2 separate regions of the Homo sapiens genome follow, and region 1 is linked to region 2. Evidence: promoter capture Hi-C in 16 types of primary human blood cells and fetal thymus (Javierre and others, 2016). All regions are on one chromosome and are shown on one strand. The core of a region is centred on a gene start or on the middle of the fragment in contact, and the rest is flanking DNA. Distances in the headings are between cores, read along the strand shown. Region 1 overlaps DNAAF9 (dynein axonemal assembly factor 9). Region 2 holds the start of GNRH2 (gonadotropin releasing hormone 2).

Region 1 (7,272 bases), core at 2,276-4,775, 260 kb before region 2:
CCTGTCTCAGCAAAGTTATTGAAAAATCATTGTTTTCCCACTGATCGGCAGTGCCAGCTTTGTTATAAATCAAGTCTCTTTATGTGTGCATCTATTAATAGGCTCTCTGTTCTGTTCCATTGGGAAAGAAAATAACACATTGTCTTATTTTAGATAGATAACATATTTCTATATGGTGACTTAGTCTGCTTGGGATGCCATAACAAAATACCACAGAGTGAGTGGATTAACAGTAGGAATTTATTTCTCACAGTCTGGAGGCTGAGAAAATTATAACACTATACTAAAAGGCATTAAAAATGACATAAACACACATCCCATTCATGGACTGGAAAACTCAGGTTTACTTACTTGACATGGTAAAAATGACAATTCTCTCCAAAGTGATCTTTAAATTTAACATAATTTCAGGAAAAAAAAAACCAACAAGTTTTTTGAAAATCCTGAAAAGCCAACATAAAAATGTCAATAACTTTGAGCAAAGTGCTAAGAACAGCCAAGATACTCCTGAAGAAGAAAAACAAGGTGGGAACTTGCCTTATCACATTAGAGACTGAATGTTTGTGTCCTCTCCAAAATTCCAGTGTTGAAGCCTTAACCCCAAAAGTGATGTTATCTGGAGATGGGGCTTTTGGAAGGAAATAGGGGTTAGATGAGGTCATGAATGTGGGACAAGGTCTGTTGGGATGTGGTGCCCTTATAAGAGCTACCAGAGAGCTTAGCCCCTACCATGTATGCATGGAGGAGGAGTCATGTGGGCATGTGGCACCACACCTGGCTAATTTTTTTTTTTTTTTAGTAGAGATGGAGTTTCACCATGTTGGCTAGGCTGGTCTCAAACTCCAGGCCTCACGTGAAGCTCCCACCTCAGTCTCCCAAAGTGCTGGGATTACAGGCGTGAGCCACTGTACCTGGCTGGAGGGAGCCACCGCACCTGGCTGGAGGGACACTTTAAAAATGAAGGTTTTGGTCTGGCACGGTGGCTCACACCTGTAATCCCAGCACTTTGGAAGGCCGAGGCGGGCAGGTCACCTGAGGTCAGGAGTTCGAGACTAGCCTGGCCAGCGTGGTGAAACCCCATCTCTACTAAAAATACAAAAATTAGCTGGACCGTGGTGGCGCATGCCTGTAATCCCAGCTACTTGGGAGGCTGAGGCACAAGAATCACTTGAACCTGGGAGGCGGAGATTGCAGTGAGCAGAGATGGCACCACTGCACTCCAGCCAAGGCAACAGAGTGAGACTCCATCTCAAAAAAAAAAAAAAAAAAAGTAAAGTTTTGTACAGCACTGAGCATGAAGGAACTGTATAGCTGCATATTACTTGTAACATAGGTCACATTCAGGAACAGAATGTCAGGAGAAGTAAGCAAGTCACAGAAGAATACATGATTAGGATTTCATTTATATAAAAACACAGACAAAACTAAGTAATACACAGTTTACAAATACATTCAAGTGTGGTAAAACCATCCAGAATTCAGGATGCTGTTCCCCCTGGGTGGAAGAGAAGGGCTCTCATTGAGGAAGGACATCCAGGGGGTTTCAACGGTGCTAGTAATGCTCAATTTCTTAGGCCCAGTGGTGAGTTCATAGACATCTGGGTTTTGTAGTTGTTGCTTTAGTTTTTTTTTTTTTTTTTTTTTAAACCTTGTGTGTACATTTCACACACATTTATAGACACAGGATGAAAATCATCTAGCCATTGCATCATAAATTTCCCCAGCAGTGATAAATGTTCCCTCCTCACATAGACTGGGCTGTTGGAAGATTTTTATTTGTACAGCCAGTTTTCTGAAAGAGGAAAGCGAAATTCTTCTTTGGCATTTGCTTGGTATTTTGGTTTACCCTGAGGGCCCATCCCTCTTTTGTTGGACTTCCAGGGATACAGAGCTCAATCAAAGACAACCAAACTGCAGTCCTCCTGGTTTTGGGACAATAATGGGAAACTTCCTCTTATCCTGGGTTTTCAGACTTACAGAATGGAGAAGGAAGGACAGAGTTCATCCACTAAGGACACCAAGGATGGCACAAAGAGTCAGGGAGATCTCCTCAGGAGTTGGCTGCCCTGGCCCCTGTGAACCCCTGCAAAGGTATGGCCCTCAGACCACTGTCTGACAGTCAAGAGTCCAGAGCAGATACCAGAAGGGTTATTGCTTCAAGCAGATGAGGATCTGAGACCAGAGCACAGGCACTGGGCCACCCAGTAAGTCACTTCACTTATCTCATGTGTGCTCTGAGAATAATGGCAGAGTTACTGCTCATAGAGCCAGGCTAAGGGGCAGCTGCGATCACAGGACAGATCACAGGACAGTACTGAAATCAGATCCTGTTTACTGAGACCTTGCCTTGGCTCATGCCCCATAATGAGCTCTTCCAGCACTGTCTTGTGAATTTGTCTTCCTCTTTTCCATTTTGTTTTGAGGCTTCAGAGTCTAGTGGGAGAGGAAATGCTGGAGATGACCTCGCTCATCCTTTCCCATCTTCCTATTGAGTAAATGGAATGTGCCAGCTTCTCCAATCTGTGCTTTTTTCTGGAAGCTTCAGGATTTTGAGCTTTGTCCAGGAGGCCTTTCAAGTGGCACTGGACTTGTTTCTAAAAAGGTTCACTTCAAAAGTACAAATGTAGAGGGATACCCAGGACAGGGAAGGGTGCAGGTACTAACCACTCAGCAGCAGGAGCAGTTTCTACCTCGTGACACCTATGGAGCCCTCTTATCTCTGGAAACAGTAAGTAGAGTCATCTTGTGGCAGGAGTTGGTGGGGTTGTGGTTTTAGGAGAGTGTTGAAGGTCTGGGATGAGCTCTGTGGGCTGATGGAAGGAGTGGGGAGACAGCAGTGAACAGGCTACGGGGCAGCACTGTGGCCTGTTGTGGTTGAGGGAGCAGAGAAGGCACATCTACAGATTCACCACAGCTGGGCTTTGGACAGGGGAGAATTGAAAGAAAAAAAACATGAGAGAACTGAAGGCACCAGCATGGTATAGTGTCTTTGGCATCAGACAAACCTGTGTTCTGTACCTGGCTCCACCACCAAGTAATGCTGTGATTTTGGGGGAAATCTCTCTAAGCTTGAGTTTTCTCATCTGTCCTATGAGAAAAAATAATACCACCTGTTACAATTGTGAAAACAGAAAACTATAATGTATGACATGTGTGGTGCTTAGTAAATACTGCGTGAAACCTGTTCCCATTCCTTTCTTTTAACAGAACAAAGATTAAAGGTTAAGTCCTGTCCCAGAGGATCTGCCCTTGATGTGGATGAGAAGAATATCAGAAATTTCTGAGCAATAGGGGAAAATGCGAATACCAATGACTGTGAAGGCTCAGTGACATCAGAGGATGGGGTGTGGGGAGGGAAACAGCTAAAAGGGGGATGGGGTGCTGGAGTCAGAGAGTAGTTGCTGGGCTGGAGATTTCAGAAGTCATGACATTCTGGGTGCAGCTTTACTGCTCTAAGAAGGAATGGGAGTGTTGGCATTGGAAGGGAAGACTGAGCACATTCAGAGTGATTTGAAATATGGCATGGTCAGGAGGGCAGTAGGTGTGAGCAGTAGAGGGAGGGGCTTGTGTCTCTAGGGGAATGAAAGTAACATGCTGTGGTGTTGGGGAGACTGGCCTGGGAGCAGCATGGAGGAACTTTAGGGTTGGTACAGGATGAGGCTGGGGCATGATTAGCCTCCTTTTCAGAGGGCCTCAGGAAAAGGCAGTGTGCACAGAAAGCCAGGCTACTTGTTGGAGGGTAGAGGTTTCCAGAGCTTGAACCTAGATAGTCGCTGGCTGTGGCTGCCACAGATGGTAAGGTTGGCATGTCCCTCTGACGGGGCATCTGGTTCTTCCATGAGAGGCAGGTGCCAGTTCTTCTTCTTGTACCTAAAAACTGCCTCCTTCTCCCTTCACTTCTCCTGTCCCCTGTGAACACATACTAACTAGGCCCCTCCCTTCCTTCTGAAACCTCACCTCCTCAGGAAGCCCTCAAAGCTTGCAGTCTCCAGATTCCTCACCCAGGATGTGAAGGCAGCCCTCAGACTCCTGGCCTTTGCTATTCTTGTCATTCCAGCCTCCAGAGCTTTGCACTGCTTTTCTGGAGCTACAACTTAAGGAATCAATTTCACTTATTTATCTCTTGGCCTTTGCCTTGGCAGTGAGGTCTTAATGACAATAAACTCAAACCTGTGCCTTGAGCTTTAAGAACTACTTCATCTCCCTCTATATGCGGAAACATGGAAAGAAAAGCTGTTACAGGAATAGAAGATTCAGCTTGGACCAGCCCCAGAGAGCAGCTTCACCTAGGAGTCTTATGGGTGCTTTGGGTGCTGCTTTTGTGTCTCCAAAGCAAGCCCAGGCCCAGCATTAATCTTTGTCATCTTAGTTGTCCATCTTTTCCATGGTCTGCTCCCTAGGGCCTATACTGAGCTGCTCCATATGACCTTGACCATCCAGGAAACAACAGCTCTCCTTAGACCTGAATCCTTGTTCCGAGGAACCCACATCCATGTCCACCTGTCACCCATCTTGCTTTTGTGAACTACAGAAGAGCAGCCCCCCAGTGTCTGTAGAACTTACTCATTACCTAACTCAAATGTTCTGTTGCTGGGCACAGGGACCTTAAGCTCCCTTCACCAGTCTTCAGCTGAGACCCAAGTGCTCCTTCTCGGGCCCTAAGTGAGGGATGTGGTCTCTTTAGGGCCGAGCCAGCTTCTGGCAAAGCAGAAGAAAGGAAAATCTGTAAACTCAGTAATGGAGCAGATATACCCAAAGTCTTTTTTAGTGTGTTTCCGTGGAAGATACCCATAAGGTAATGTGAATTTTGCTTCTCCCCATTAGCTGATAGTTTATTCACTTGTTTTTCTAATTCTTATGCAAAGACTGCATCTGATGCCTCATTTCCCTCTGAGGCTTTGGGAGGTTACTTTGGCTTCCTCAGAGCACAGGGCTCAGCATACAAATCGCATAACGTAATTGCTACTGATACTGGCCTCTAGTTACCACACTGCTGTACAAGAGGACATTGGAATCTGACCCCCAGCACCCAGCCCTCCAGCTCTGACCAACTCTCTTTTCCTTCCAGGGAATGTTCATTTCTTCTCTAGTGGCCTTCTGTTTTCTCACTGTCGTCATAGAAGTATCATCATTTCCAAGGATCACATGAATTCCATTTCCTTCTATGATGGGGTAGGTGTTTTACTAGTCAGTGGCTTTTTTGGTCGGAAAGTTGCTCACACTTTTGAGGGGAAAACTAAATAACTCCTTTCTCCCCTCCACTACCACAGGGCAGTATGTCAGGAACCAGCACAGCCACTGAGGCAGGCAGGGAGGGAGGTCGTGGAGAGGCCTGGGCATTCTCAAGACGCTTACGAGCCTCATCAACCTCACTGCTCTGTAAAGGGCTTACCTAGAAAGGGCTTCTGGTCAGAAGGGCCAGCAGCTCCCCATGCCCAATTCATTCACCCTAAAGAGGACTATAAAGCAGGCTGAGAAGGCCTCCAGTGGCCCCTCTTGGGTGGCCTCCAGGTCCAGGGGCTCAAGGCTCACCCACTGAAAAATCAGAAAGGAGCTGCATCCTGTGGTATTGATGAGGCTCAGCATACACATTAGCATGGACAGGATTGTAAGTGAGCCAGAGAGGGAGAGAAATGGCTCACTTTCCCCGTGAGAGTTTAGCCCCTCCTCCCTCACACACCCAGACTTCCTCTCCAGCTCCATAAAAGTTCCACTGTCCTATAACAATCCTCTAAGTTCACCAGTCTGCACCAACACTTCCCATTCACCTTAAGGGGAAGATGGTAGCTATGGGTTTCCCCTAGCCTTTACCCTGTGGCCAAGGCACAGCTCGTCTCAGTGCAACACCAGAGCAGAGGGCAGGCCCACCACTCTGCCTGGTCTCAGCCTCAAAACCAGTCTGTCTGGGAGCTAGGACAGAGACTATGTGAGGTATTTTGGTCAGATGGCTCAGAAAACGAATTCTGTGAGCAAGTTTTTCTTCCATATAGAGCCTGCAGCCTTAAAGGCTGTTCAGAAATGTAGGCAGACCAATTGGACACATTGGATGGCCCTATTAGATTAAAGTGTTGCTGTTAGATTAAAGAGTCTTCCAATATCAGGGAAGAAAGAATGCATCATGAAAAGCACAGTACTGGGATGATAAGTAGCTAATTTCGACAAAAAATAGACTCTTACCTCTACTAAAAATCAAAATGAACTTCTGAGGGATTAAAATTAAATATATTTAAATTTCACAAATAGAATATAAAAATGAATATTTATTAAACCTCTAGGGGTTAGAAGACTTCTGAAGCTTAGAAACAATACAAGAAATTCTAAAGGAAAAGTTTGTCAAATTTGACCAGTTACTGATTTTTTTTTTTTTTTTGAGACAGAGTCTCGCTCTGTTGCCCAGGCTGGAGTGCAGTGGTGCGATCTCGACTCACTGCAAGCTCTGCCTCCCTGGTTCACGCCATTCTCCCGCGTCAGCCTCCTGAGTAGCTGAGACTACAGGCGCCTGCCACCACGCCCGGCTAATTTTGTTTTTGTATTTTTAGTAGAGACGGGGTTTCACTATGTTAGCCAGGACAGTCTCGATCTCCTGACCTCGTGATCCACTCACCTCGGCCTCCCAAAGTGCTGGGATTACAGGCATGAGCCACCACACCCAGCTGACCAGTTACTGATTTTTAAAAATTTTATGCTGATAATTTAACTTATTAAAGTATACTGTAAATACAACTAACTGTATCCATTTAAAGGTTTGGCAGATGTGTACATTCATGAAACCACCTTTACTATCAAACCAAAATGTTTTCTCATGCCCTTTTTCATCTTTCCCTCCACTCCTGGGTTCAGACAACCACTGATTAGCTTTTGTCCCTATATATTAGTTTGCATTTTCTAGAATGTTATATAAATGAACATCATCTATTCTGTAACCTTTGAGTCTGACATTTTCCACTCAACATAGTGATTTTTAGATTCATCCATGTTGTGTATGTAAATAGCTGTGTTCTCTTTATTGCTAAGTAGTATTCCATTGTATGGGTATATCATAAAATTTGTCAGACTAATTAGTAATGCAAAAACCCTTTAAAAAGTATTTTAGGGGATGGGGAGGGGTAGATCGATGAATACAAAGTTAGAAAGGATGAGTAAATTCTAGTGTTCTGTTGCACAGTAGGGTGCCTGCAGTCAACAATAAGGTGTTCAGATCTCACAATAGCTAGAAGAGAAGATTCTGAATGATAAATGTTTGAGTTGATGGATTTCTCATTCATTACCCTG
Region 2 (7,157 bases), core at 3,746-6,245:
CACACACCTGCTAATCCTAGCCTAGAATATTTAATTCTTCATGGCTTCATTACCTGTAAGGCAAAATACAACCTCTTTGTGGAACCCAGAAAAAAATGGGGTCTCCTCTTTGCCTTCTGGGTCTTGGATACACCAGACTCTGGCCAGCAAAGCACAGTATAGAGCAGAGGCAGGCGCCTGGCCAATGGTTAGCTTGTGGCTCAGGTCCTGGGTGACACAGGCTAGAGTCCTAAAGCTCCAGATGAGAGATCACTACACTTTTCCTGTAAAAAGTTAAAGATTTTAGTCTTTGGGATTCATATGGTCTCTGTTGCAACTACTCACCTTTGCCACTGTAGTAAAAAGAAGTCAATGAGTGGGTGTGGCTGTGTTCCAACAAAACTTTATTTACAAAAACAGGAAGCAGGCACGTTTGGCCCTCAGACTGTAATCTTCCCATCACTACTCTTAATGATACTCAGATGACCTGGCTGCCTGAGGGGGCTGTGGCCCTGTCTGATTCTCTGTGAGATGGAAACCACTCTAGGGTCTCCTGGTGCGCTGAGGCTGTACACACCGGCAGAACAGGGCACTGCGTTTGGAAGTTTCTGACCAAGTGGTGACAGCAGAGGGCAAAACGTGAAGGCTGTGCTGGATAAGGCTGAACCTTCCTCATAAGCAACACCAACTGCTTTATTCCAGGTCAGGGCCAACTCTTCCGCCATGATACATACATGGTCCCTGGCGGGCACTGTCCTTACTGGGCCCCTAGGAGTCCCTGCGTTGTGGCCTGACCACCAGCCCCTCTCTGGTGATGGCCCAGTTGTAGTTCTTCCGGGAGTCCAATGCTGCTTCCACCCGTGCCTCCAGGTTCTCTCGGGTGATGAAGTTTTTCACCTCTTCCTATCGGGAGAGAAAAGCCCAGCTGAACAGGAGCCTTGGGCACATGCCAGCCAGCCCACCCAGCCTGCTGGCCTCTCACCCCACTGAGAAAGCAGCTCCTGCTCTCCCTGGGGAAGCATGCCTGGAACCCAGGTCCTATTTGAGAGCCCCTCTGGCCTCCCAGTGGAGTGATATCAGGTTGCTTTTCCACGTTCCTCTTTTCTCAGACACTTCAGCCATAGCCCCGAGTGCCAGCTATGAAAATCTCACGTCCTGGTAGGTGAAATCCGTCCCTCAGTGGTCCCCTCTGAATCACTCTAACTCATCCTTCCCCCCATTACTTTATTTATTTATTTATTTATTTATTTTGAGACGGAGTCTCACTGTCGCCCAGGATGGAGTGCAGTGGCGCCATCTCGGCTCACTGCAACCTCTGCCTCCTGGGTTCAAGCGATTCTCATGCCTCAGCCTCCCGAGTAGCTGCGATTACTGGCGCACACCACGCCCGGCTAATTTTTGTATTTTTAGGAGAGACGGGGCTTGGCCAGGCTGGACTCGAACTCCCGACCTCAAGTGATACGCCCGCTTCGGCCTCCCATAGTACTGGGATTACAGGCGTGAACCACCGCTCCCAGCCACCCTTCTATACTTTAAATCAAGCCTCATCCATTCTCACTGCATTACTCCTAAGTGGTCTCCCTGCTTTTAAGTCGCACACCTGCTAATCCTAGCCTGAAATACTTAACCCTTCATGGCTTCATCACCTGTTATGCAAAATACAACCTCTTTGTGGAACGCAGGGTCCCTCCCACAGACCTGCTAGGTACCTGAACACTGTCCAATTACTCCGCTCACCTCCGGGTCTTTGCGCCTGACTGGCACTCTCCTCTCCAAATCCGGACCTGCCAACTGTAAGTCTCTGCACATAGCCAGCGCCCGCGTCGCGGTGCCCAGAATTCCCAGTGCCCCGCAAGCCGCGTCCCCGGCTGGAGTCCCACCCTCCGGAGACGTTGCCCACCTGCAGCTGCAGCACTTCCCGCTCCTTGCGCTGCGCCCAGGCCTGCACCTCTTCGGCCTTGCGGGCCTGCTCCAACGCCTGCCGCTGCTCCTGCTCCCGCTCCTCCTGCCGCAGCCTCGCTATCCTGTGAGGGTCAAAGGGCCGAGGCTGAGCGGGGCCCGGGCTTCTCCCAGGCCGGCCAGGCCGCGCCGCCCCGCCCCGCCTCCCGCCCCACGCACCGCAGCTCGTGCAGCCGCCGGTTCTCCGCCTGGTTCCAGGCCATCAGCTCGCGGTGCTCGGCGGCGTCCTTCAGGGCCTTGCGCTCCGCCAGAACCCCGGCTCGGGCCTCGTGCACCTTCCTCTGCACCTCGGACACGAACTCCATCCTGGGTGCAGACGCGCCAGGAATCAGCACCCTCTCCGCCCACTCCCACCGTCACCAGCGCGCGCGGGCGGCCACCTCCCCCCGGCCGCACACCTGAGGGCGCGCACGGTCTGGCGGTAGTGCTGGTAACGCTCCATCAGCACGAAGAACTCCGCAGGGTCCACCGCGGGCGGCATGTTCACTCGCTCGATCTTGGATTTGGCCAGCGGGTCGTGGCGGGTCTTGCGGCCGCGCGCTGGCAGCACCAGAGGGGCCCGGGGCCTGCACGGGGTCCCCGCGCCCAGGCGGCTCAGCGCGCGTAGCATGGCCGAGTCTCCTCACTGCGGCCGCGGTGCCGGGACGCCACCGTGCCCCGGAAGCGGCGCGGGGAACCTTGGGACCTGTAGTCCTCGGGCTGTCCCTCACGCCCCGCCCGGCCGTGTGGCCTCTGGAACCGAAGCGGCGACCCTGCGGACGTCCGCATCCCGCCCCCAGGCTCTGGCCCGGCCTTCCCGCCAGGGCCCGGGGCCATCCCTTAGTTACTCCCGCCCGCGGGGCCGGACCCGCGTCCCTCCAGCCCCCACGCAGGGAAGGGTCTCAGCGGGGAAGACAGGGAGGGGACGAAGGACAGAACTCGACGCAACAGCTTCGGAGAACCTCACACTTTATTGGAGGATGGCGGGGCGGGGCGGGGCTCTCGGGCTGCGGTCTGCGGAGGGAGAGGTGGCGGTCATGTCTCAGGACACTGGTCTCGTAACCGCCGAGCTGCCATCTTCCTGGTTCTCTCCCCTCTCGTCCCCCCCAGTCCCCATGTGGCCTCCCACAGCAGGACGCCCCCCGCCTCCCGTAGAAGCCTGAGGATCCAGCTAGTGTGGGGATCTCCAGCTCCCTTGGGCATGCCCTCTTGTCCACCCTAAACAAGCCTGACGCATAGAAACCTCAGCACATACACACAAATCAGGCGGTAAGACATTGCCTCATAGGAACTAACCACTTTCTTCTTTAGTTACCGGGCTCTCCTGATGCACTGTAAATGTTTGATTTGCAAAACAGTAGCAAACCATTTCCCCACGCCTGTCTTCTGCTATGGTCTTGGGGAGCTCTGCAGTCCCTGAGATGTTCCTAGTGCACATGTCAGTCACCACCTGGTCCTCTTGGCCCTGTTGTCTGTTTGAGTGAGGTTGCATCCCTCACCTCTTTCCACTGGCCTGGGGTCTGTCCACCTCAAGACAGTCATTGGCTTGTCAGGATGCCTGTGGGATCCCATGGCCACCACTGTCTTATAGAACAATTATCTCCTTCTAGTCTACTAGTGACTTTGGTCTTTAACCCAAGTGCTTTGTAAATTGTCTAGAATCCTCCTGGGAAATAGGAAGGATAGCAGACAGCACCCTGCTGTGTGCAGTAGGGGCACTGAGAAATGGCTGGGGGTGCTGTGGCAGGGGGCATCTCAGTGGTGTTTCATTCTCCCCACCCTCCCAGCACCCAACCCTAAGCCACAATGGCCTCTGATGACCAGTGGCTGGTCTTGATGCTGGGGACCTCTCACCCTACTCACCAGCAGTGTCCGTGCCAGGTGTCGCTTCCTGTGAAGGGACCACTGGGCCGTGGTCCTGCCCTCCCAGGGCATGCTGTCGTCCAGGGGAGCCAGGGCATCACTTGGGAGGCCATGGGCAGTCTGGACTGGGCTGCCTGCTGCAGTGTCCAGGGCCCTTCCTTAGAAGGGAACTGATGCTGTCCTCCCTACCCCGACCTCAGGCTCCAGGAGGGTGGGGGAGCCCCCGGCCATCACTTTCTTCCTCCCCATGAGGCTGGGAGACACCCACCTGGGGGCCTAAGGGCATTCTGGGGATCCTGGGCTGAGCTGAGGGCTCGCTTTCCTCCAGGGTACCAGCCATGGGACCAGTGCTGAGCCTCTGAGGGTCCAAGGTGGGCAGTCAGCAGCAGCAGGAGCAGGAGGCCTCGCCTGGAGCTGGCCATGGCTGCTCTAATGGACAGGGTACAGCATTCAAGGAGACTTACCTCACCCCCACATCCCCCTACTTCCTCCAGGGCCACTTTGGAAAACTGGCATCTCAGGGGCAGCTTTGGTATCTCCTTATGCCCTTCCCTCTCTGCCACCGCTCCTCATCCCAAGCATACAGGGGTCCAGATCCTGGGGGATCCTGGCCCAGCAGGGGATGATGCTCCAGGGGACGAGCCTTCTCCCTGAGCCTGGGGCACAGAGGCTACCTGCCTTGCCAGCTCTGAGGGCCCTCCCACTTGTCCAGGTCCATCCATCTTTCCTTCAAGGAGTTTCCAGAAGTGGAAGAAAGTTGGAGGGGAACAGAGACCTGAATTCAGGCCAATGGATGGGAGGATAGATGGATGGTCAGGGGAGTTCTCAATGTAGGCGTGTTTGGAGCACCAGTGCTAGGGAACCAGAGTTGCAGGCCTTCTGCCCTTTTCTCCGTGGCCTGCTGTATCTCTTCCATAGTAGTTGGGGATGTGGAATGGATGAGTGGTATTGATGGGGGCAAGTGCTTCTACCCCTTATCCCTCCCATGCCAGGGGCAACAAGCACAAGAATAGATGGTAGAGCTGTTGGGGAGAGGAGAGGAAAAGGGGACTTCTCTGGCATGGTTCAGGGGTGGAGGCACCTGGGAATGGGGAAGAGGAGCAGCACACCATACGCCCAGGATGAAACTTGGTCCAGGTGTCCTAGCCCTTAGGGAAGGCTCCCCACTCACCAAGGAAGAGCTGTGGATGAGATGGCTCCTTCAGGCAGCTGCAGGACCCTAGCCTGATGGCCCCAGGATTTATAGACCAGGCAGCTCCACCCCCAGACTCCAGTGACGTCTTCAGAGGGGAAGAGAGAAGCTCACCACCCAACCCGCTTCCCAGAGCATCCAGTCCATGAACATTCACCAGGCAGCTGCTGCCCTGAGGCCACCGACACATGCTCCCTCCCCACCACCTTCCCAGGAGCCTTCAGGCCCAGGACTCTTGCTTTAGGCTGGCCTATGTCCTGGTCTCACCTTCCCACTTCCCAGGCTGCATCTTCAAGCTCCTGATCTTGAGACCTAGAAAGCCCTCACAGCCTTCCCTGATCCCAAAAGAGAATTGTGTCCTGGGCAGGGGCAATGCCTGGGGGCTCCCCAACTCCCAGCTCAGGGCTTTCCCTGGTGGACAGTGGAAGCCTAAGAGTAGGGAGCCTGGCAGGCTGTTCAGAGGTACAGGGGAGGCTGTGACCACTCTCCCAGAGGGCTTCCGTTTGCTCACTGTAGAGTGGGTTGGGTGGGACAATTCACATCCACACACCTGGGAACCAGGGCTGGGTCACTCCAGATGGCTGGGTTTGGGTGGGGCAGTACCTACCCCGGAGTGGCTTCTCTCCTGGCGAAGAAGCGGGCCCATGAGATGGGGCCCAGCTGTTGGGCCAGTGCAGTCTCCCTAGGTAGGTAGAATAATTTTGTCCCTCAAGGCTCTAACCCCTCCCCAGTCATGGATTTGGACACAGCTAGCCTGGGCTGCTGGAAGTGGGCTCTTGCTTCCCAGTCTGCGTCAGCAGCTCAGCTTTCCTTGGCCAGCCATCAGCCTCTGGGGGTCAGAGGCCTGTTTACAGGGTTCATAGCCAATCTCCGCACTTGGGCTGAACAGCAAATGGGAGGGCCAGGGTCATTTGGAGAGCTGGTGCGTCAAATCCTGTGACAAAGATGGGGGAGGGGAGGCATAATGGGCATCAGTCAGCCCTAGACACCTGGACTTCAGCAGCCAAGGCAGGATGGGCACACCTGTGAACTTCCAGACTGACTTATTAGCAGGGACCGGAAATCAACGTGTGGCCCATTTGTTCAGTTAAATTGTTTTGGCTTAAATATGCGGACTTTGTTAACTGGGTGATTTTTAGGGAAACATTTGCTTGTGGTTTAGTGAAAATGAATCTGAGTTCGACGTACTAGTTTAGTTCTGGTTGGGGTTTACAGAATGCTTTCTTCAAAGATGCACCAAGGCTGGTGTACCTTTAAAAGGGGGATGGTTGCCTTTATTTATTCTGTAATTTGATTCCGGCTTTTCCTGAAAAATCTAAACCAGAGCCAAGCTTCCTGGGGAAAGCTCTGCTCCCTTTTTTTTCCGGCAACATACTTAGCTTTTAAGAAATGTTTGGTCCTTTCCAGACTAGAACTGTGGAACTCTTGTATCCCTCTCATTAGAACATAGAAAGCCATCTGTTCACCACGGAGCTCCAGTCCTCAGGATATGAAGTCACTGCAGCCAGGAGCTGCGTGTACTCAGGTGGGAAAGCAGAGGTTCAGAGGTGAATAAACACTCAGGTGCTGCAGGAGCACAGAGAGGCACAAACCCTGAGCAGGCGGCCTGGGTGAAGGACAGAGACGAGTGAGCTGGAGTCACGGACGCAGGGAGTGGCAGCAGAGGGGTGCAGCATAAGGAACAAAATGGAGAAGGGCCAGCAGGAACTGCCGTGGATCCATGGGGCCAGAGTATGTGGGAAGGTTAGAGGAAAGGAGGGCGGGCCCCTGGGTGTGGGCAGTGGGAGGCAGGCATCTCTGGACCACCCTGACATGCGACCAGGATGCGGGGGACTTGGGATTGGAGGAGAGCTGAGGGTCCACAGAGACAGATCCAGAATCCTGACCTCTGAGAGAGGAGACAGTGGAGGAGCAGCTAAAGGGTGAGGATAAGAGGCAGAGGACAGCCTGTGACACAAAGGGGAAGAGACCATGGGTCCCTGGTGTTTAGCACCAAGGTGACCTTGGTGCGCAGGGATGGAAAAGAAATGTGTGGGAATGAAGTGAGGAAGGGGGAAGAGTGAGAACACAGGTTTCTGCAAGTAGTCTCTCATAGAGGGAAGAACTTAGGCCTGGGGTGGGAGACATGCTCTTTATTTAATTAATTAATTAATTCTTTTTCTTTTTCTTTTTTTTTTTTTGAGAT

What was found. Contacts are between HindIII fragments. The CHiCAGO score rates a contact against its expected background, and 5 or more counts as called.
Region 1: a fragment that was not itself captured here is called in contact with the fragment with the promoter of GNRH2 in region 2 in 2 of 17 cell types (naive CD4 T cells and naive CD8 T cells); the score reaches 6.7 in naive CD4 T cells.

What each region holds. Positions count from the first base shown.
Region 1 is chr20:3,302,340-3,309,611 of GRCh38, reverse strand. It overlaps DNAAF9 (dynein axonemal assembly factor 9), which reads left to right. Exons shown (of 37, transcript NM_001009984.3): 21 at 5,069-5,172. Among named protein-coding and RNA genes, the nearest start is that of SLC4A11, 67 kb to the right of the region's middle. The HindIII fragment of the contact is 910 bases long and covers 3,071-3,980 here.
Region 2 is chr20:3,041,460-3,048,616 of GRCh38, reverse strand. GNRH2 (gonadotropin releasing hormone 2) reads right to left here and starts at 4,995. Exons shown (of 4, transcript NM_178331.2): 1 at 4,952-4,995; 2 at 4,049-4,209; 3 at 3,781-3,917; 4 at 2,870-2,931. The coding sequence starts at 4,202. The coding sequence ends at 2,881. It overlaps MRPS26 (mitochondrial ribosomal protein S26), which reads right to left and starts at 2,565. Exons shown (of 4, transcript NM_030811.4): 1 at 2,337-2,565; 2 at 2,098-2,244; 3 at 1,880-2,003; 4 at 367-882. The coding sequence starts at 2,548. The coding sequence ends at 748. RefSeq lists enhancers at 1,624-1,683, 3,024-3,083 and a silencer at 2,054-2,923. The HindIII fragment of the contact is 14,485 bases long and covers 1-6,305 here.